Linked DNA regions of Homo sapiens: region 2 is linked to region 1. The links are contacts of gene promoters, found by promoter capture Hi-C in blood cells and fetal thymus (Javierre and others, 2016). All regions are on one chromosome and are shown on one strand. Each heading gives the region's core, a stretch centred on a gene start or on the middle of the fragment in contact. The rest is flanking DNA. Distances are from core to core; before and after follow the strand shown. Region 1 holds the start of SUPT7L (SPT7 like, STAGA complex subunit gamma). Region 2 overlaps PPM1G (protein phosphatase, Mg2+/Mn2+ dependent 1G).

Region 1 (2,828 bases), core at 291-2,790:
CTTCAACTGTGTTACTGTTAACTCGGATTCTGCCTCTCGGTCTTCCTCTGGTCCCTGATGAACCAAGGAAAAAAAGGTTATTTATTTATTTAGAGACAGGGTCTTGCTCTGTCGCCTAGGCTGGACTGGAGTGCAGTGGCTGTAATACACCTCACTGCAGCCTTGACCTCCTGGGCTCAGGTGATCCTCCCACCTCAGCCTCCTGAGCAGCTGGGACCATGATGCCTGGCTAATTTTTTTTTTTTTTTTTAAGAGACAGGGTCTTGCCATGTTGCCCAGCCTCCTCTCAAACTCCTGGGCTAAAGCGATCCTCCCGCCTGGGCCTCCCAAAGTGTTGGGATTACAGGCGCGAGCCACCGCGCCTGGCCAAACAAGTTATTTTAGAGTTCGGGATTGTGAACATGACTTTCAGAAATATAGCAATGTGTACAGCCGTCTGAAGATGATAGGCCAGACTTGATTCCTTCACTTTCGTAATCGCTGAGTGGGAGATTCTTCTTCCTCATCCAAAGCTTAAGAAGCACAAGAACGCAGTCCAATGAACCCGAAATTTCAATTCTAGGTTTTTCTACCTACCTGCAGGATAAAGAGCCGGGTGCTGCCTCCAAAGCGAACAACATGCCCAACGTGGACTCGACAGTAGGTGCGAGGTGGGATGCGAGTTTTGTTGAGAAAAGTGCCATGGGTGCTTCCCAGATCGTAGAGGTAGAAGCCCGGCCCGTTGCTGTCGCATTCTCCGTCAGGGCCGGACGCCCTGTGCTGCAGCACTGCGTGGTACCGAGACACCGAAGGGTGCTCCAGGCACACGTCGCAGCCAGACAGCCTCCCGAAAAGGCAGTAACTCGTCCCTTTCAAGCTACGGGTGCCAAGGATAGTGCCGCCCTTCAGGGTCTCTAAGCTGTAGGGGGCTGTGGCAGGGCCACCCCATGGAGGCTCTTGGTAGGGGGGAGCCCGGGCTGGACCGCCAGGGGAAGAAACCGCTGTCGGGGGGCGCGACTGCTCCTCCTGTAGACTCCTAAAATCACCGCAGTCCGGCTGAGGAGGAGGGATGTCGGGCTCCCCAGAATTGGAGTCCTGCAACGCAGTGGGCCCTTCCTTCTGTACCTCCTCAGGGTTTGAAGAACTGCTGGCCGGGGCCTTACTCCGCGCCGCTGGGGACACCGGCAGAGCTGGCTTCTTGAAGTCCCCACTGAGGTCTTGCGACGCCAGGGTCTCTGACTGAGAGAGAATGTCAGCCATCCTCAACCGGTGCAACTTCGAAATCCGCTCCTTCGAAACCCACCCTTCGGTCTTTACGTTCCTGTCCACGTCCCACTCTCCCAAGCTCCCAGTGGCGTCTGTAGGCGGCGATGGTGAAGTTGCTCCTTCACGACCTGGAGCGTTGCGAAGTGGTGCTAACATGAGAAGGTCATAATATGAGAAAAACAAAACGGTTATCGGGATGCTGTGCAGAACGGGGACATATTTAGAGGTTACAACGGGATCGTAATGACTTCCTGTTGCATAGCTTGATTGAGAAGAAGCGCTTCCGGCGGTCTTAGATCACTAATCAACAAACCAGCTTTCGGGGTCTGACGCGATCCTTGCCTCAGGCCTCTCGAGGTCCAGACAGCCGCCCAGCCCGCTCTGCGACGCAGCAGTGAATAGTGTGGTACCTCCTTGTCTCGGTTCAGGTCCAGACCTCCCCGTCTTCCGGCTGCCCTGAACGTCAGGCGACCTCAGGACCCTGTGATTGGCGCCTGCGCCGGCGGACCGTGACCGAGGAAACCCCTGGAGGGACTTGGGCATTCCTTGGGCTCCGTGCCTGTTCTTCGTGCTCCTTTCGGTAAAGTAAGGGAAGAGGGCGACTTTTTTGTTATTTCGTTCATTCATTTATTTTTTTTCTGAAATTATTAAGGCAGAATAGTTAAGTGGTTAAGAGAGCAGACTCTGGAGACTGTCGATTTTTGACCTCGCCATTTGTGACATTGGGCAAGACACTAGGCCTCAGCCCTCACTCTGAAAAATGGGGATAAGATTATTAGCCTCATAGGGTTGTTGGAAGAATTGAATCAAACAATAAAGGCCAGCCAGACCGGTGGCTCATGCCTGTAATCCCAACATTTTGGGAGGCTGAGGCGGGAGGATTGCTTGAGCCCAGGAGTTCCAGAGGAGGCTGGGCAACATGGCGAGACCCTGTCTCGCCAAAAAAAAAAAAAAAAAAGAAAAAATCCAGGTTTGATGGTGCGCGCCTGTAGTCCCAGCTACTCCAGAGGCTGAGGTGGGAGGATTGCTTGGTCCCAGGAGGTTGAGGCTGCAGTGAACCATGACTGCACCACTGCACTCCAGCCTGGGCTACAGAGTGAAACCCTGTCTCAAAAAAGAAACAAACAAAAAAGGTGAAGTCTGGCATATAGTAAACATTCAACAAATGCCAGATATTTCTGTGTGCCTGGCCCTGTAACAAGACCACAGCCATAAGAAATAGACGGGCAGAAAAAATCTATTGCGATAAGTACTAATTAAAATCCAAGGATAACTGCTGTGACATAGACTTGCAAAGCACTGTGAGAATAGAGAAAGGGAGATGCACTGGTGAAGTGACGGACGGTGGGGACTTATGCTGTACTTAAAAATGAATATGAGTCTGCCAGGGATGTGCAAGGTTGGCAGAGCATTTCTGGCAGAGTTCACAGCTGAAAGTGTCAATTGTGGAAATGTACAGCATTCTCAAGAAACTGAGTAGTATAATGTTGTTAGAACAAAGGTAGTCATTTCACCCAGGAAGCTCCTCCTTTGTGCTTCCAGTACCCCAGGTCCATATACCTCTAGAACAGTACTTACCATGT
Region 2 (2,819 bases), core at 149-2,648, 260 kb after region 1:
CAGTGGCTCACGTCTGTAATCCCAGCATTTTGGGAGGCCGAGGCAGGCAGATCACCTGAGCTCAGGAGTTCGAGACCAGCCTGGGCAACATGGCAAAAACCCTGTCTCTACAAAAAATACAAAAAAATTAGCTGGGCATGGTGGCACCCACCTGTAGTCCCAGTTACTTGGGAGGCTGAGATAGAAAATCACTTTGAGCCTGAGAGGCAGAGCCTTCATTGAGCCAAGATCGCCCCTCTGCACTCCAATCTGGGTGACAGAGCGAGACGCTGTCTCAAAAAATAAATGAATAGGCCAGGCATGGTGGCTCATGCCTGTAATCCTAACACTTTGGGAGGCTGCGGCGGGCGGATTGCCTGAGCTTAGGAGTTCGAGACCAGCCTGGACAACATGAAGAAACCCCGTCTTTATTAAAATACAAAAAATTAGCTGAATGTGGTGGTGCGTGCCTATAATCATAGCTACTTGGAAGGCTGAGGCAGGAGAATCGCTTGAATCCCAGAGGCGGAGGTTGCAGTGAGCCAAGATCGTGCCACTGTACTCCAGCCTGGGCGACAGAGTGAGACACTGTCTCAAAAAAAAAAAAAAAAAGAATAAATAAATAAATCTGGGTATAGTTTCGTAGGAAAGTCTTTTTGTAAAGTAGGTAGTCAAGAAGTTCCATTTCCATGGCATTTTCTGTTAACGTTGTGAGATTTGAGGTGAATATTCCATCTCGCAGTAAAACGTTTCTTCCAGGTTTCTCATTTAATATTTTTCACTTCTCTGCTGTTGTTTTTTCATTTCTTTGGTACCCTTCTTTCTACTTTTACTTACGGATTGAGTTGCTTGGCTACTCAGTGTTTCACGTTGGTTTGCCCAGTGATTCCATACTATTTGCTGCTTCTCTGTAGGGCATTTCCCTTTATTTTTGGTTTCTCCTCAATTAGAAAATGATTTTTTTTGTCAGGGACGGTTTAGTGTGTAGAGATCTTACTAGACTATTCCTTACATCCTAATCTTCCTCCTGAGAGATAACTGCTTAGGGTATTAAAATCTTGCTAATGTGCTGTTTCTGAAGTTGCCCTTGTTTGAATAAATATGCCTAATCAATAGTTAAATATGCCTAATCAAATCCTCTTGAAGAGTATTGTTTGGGATCCTATTCTGCTTCATTGATAGTGTTCCTTCTGGCTTTTTTTCTCTTCAAAGTGTAGCATAGTTTCTTTGCTATTGCAAGAAAATAACTATGAGTTCTAGCCTCTTCCCTGAATCTTATCTTTCCAGAAAATATAAAGTACTCCCATTCCTCTGAAGCTTTAGGGCTTAATCCAAAAATTAATAAAGTTTATTTACCCTATTTGCTTGGTCCTAATGCTTCATTTGAGGTAAGGTTATCATACCACTAAAGGTTGTTGACATGCTGACTGATGGATAGATTTAGCCGTAGAGAGGACTCTTGAGACAAAAATGGCAATCATCAATAGCTGGCATTTTTACTTTCTGCCTGTTTCAAGCTTCTCTTCCTGTGTGACCAGGGTGTTGTTGTTGTTTGTTTTGTTTTGTTTTGTTTTTGAGACGGAGTTTCTATCTTGTTGCCCAGGCTGGAGTACAATGGCATGATCTCGGCTCACTGCAACCTCCGCCTCCCGGGTTCAAGCGATTCTCCTGCCTCAGCCTCCTGAGTAGCTGGGATTACAGGCATGTGCCACCACGCCTGGCTAATTTTGTATTTTTAGTAGAGATGGGGGTCTCTCCATGTTGGTCAGGCTGGTCTCGAACTTCTGACCTCAGGTGATCGGCCCGCCTCTGCCTCCCAAAATGCTGTGAGCCACCATGCCCAGCAACCAGGGTGTTTTGAGAAAAGGTAATCAAAATACCACAGGCCAGTCGTGGTGGCTTAACGCCTGTAATCCCAGCAGTTTGGGAGGCCGAGGGGGGCAGATCACCTGAGGTCAGTTCGAGACCAGCCTAGTCAACATGGTGAAACCCCGTCTCTACTGAAAATACAAAAATTAGCCAGAGGCCAGAGAATTGCTTGAATAGGAAGGCCAGTGAGCCGAGATCTCACCGCTGCACTCTAGCCAGGGTGACAGACTCCGTCTCAAAAAAACAAACAAAAAAACCACCACAGTTGATGTTCTCCTCCTTCCTCCTTTCTCCATGAAAAAAGTGGATGAGGTATGTACTTTGGGATTAAGAGGTAGGCACTGGGCACGGTGGCTCATGCCTGTAATCCCAGCACTTTGGGAGGCCGAGGTGGGCGGATCACGAGATCAAGAGACCGAGATCATTCTGGCCAATATGGTGAAACCCTGTCTCTTCTAAAATACAAGAATTAGCTGGGCATGGTGGCGCACGCCTGTAGTCCCAGCTACTCCGGAGGCTGAGGCAGGAGAATCGCTTGAACCTGGGAGGCGGAGGTTGCAGTGAGCCGAGATCGCACCACTGCACTCCAGCCTGGGCGACAGGGTGAGACTCCATCTTAAAAAAAAAAAAAAAAAAATGAGGTAGGTTGTGGAGGGGTGCCTGAAAAATTATAAGGTAAGGCCCTTGAGTTTTTGTTGGCTAAATAAGAAGTCAAATCTGAAAATAGATTCAGTTGATGTAGTCTTTTTTTTTTTTTTTTTTCTCCGAGACGGAGTCTTGCACTGTTGCCCAGGCTGGAGTATAATGGCATGATCTTGGCTCACTGCAACCTCTGCCTCCTGAGTTCAAGCGATTCTCCTGCCTCAGCTTCCCGAGTAGCTGGGATTACAGGCGCCTGCCACCATGCCCGGCTAATTTTTTGTATTTTCAATAGAGACAGGGTTTCACTATGTTGGCCGGGTTGGTCTCCA

Evidence for each region. The method cuts DNA at HindIII sites, captures the fragments that hold promoters and counts their contacts. A CHiCAGO score of 5 or more calls a contact.
Region 2: a fragment that was not itself captured here is called in contact with the fragment with the promoter of SUPT7L in region 1 in 3 of 17 cell types (megakaryocytes, erythroblasts and endothelial precursors); the score reaches 9.4 in megakaryocytes.

Annotation. Positions count from the first base shown.
Region 1 is chr2:27,662,326-27,665,153 of GRCh38, reverse strand. It overlaps SUPT7L (SPT7 like, STAGA complex subunit gamma), which reads left to right and starts at 1,540. Exons shown (of 6, transcript NM_014860.3): 1 at 1,540-1,825. It overlaps SLC4A1AP (solute carrier family 4 member 1 adaptor protein), which reads right to left and starts at 1,265. Exons shown (of 14, transcript NM_018158.3): 1 at 577-1,265; 2 at 1-54. The coding sequence starts at 1,239. The HindIII fragment of the contact is 6,150 bases long and covers 515-2,828 here.
Region 2 is chr2:27,404,739-27,407,557 of GRCh38, reverse strand. All of the region lies in intron 1 of PPM1G (protein phosphatase, Mg2+/Mn2+ dependent 1G), which reads left to right. Among named protein-coding and RNA genes, the nearest start is that of PPM1G, 3.4 kb to the left of the region's middle. The HindIII fragment of the contact is 200 bases long and covers 1,299-1,498 here.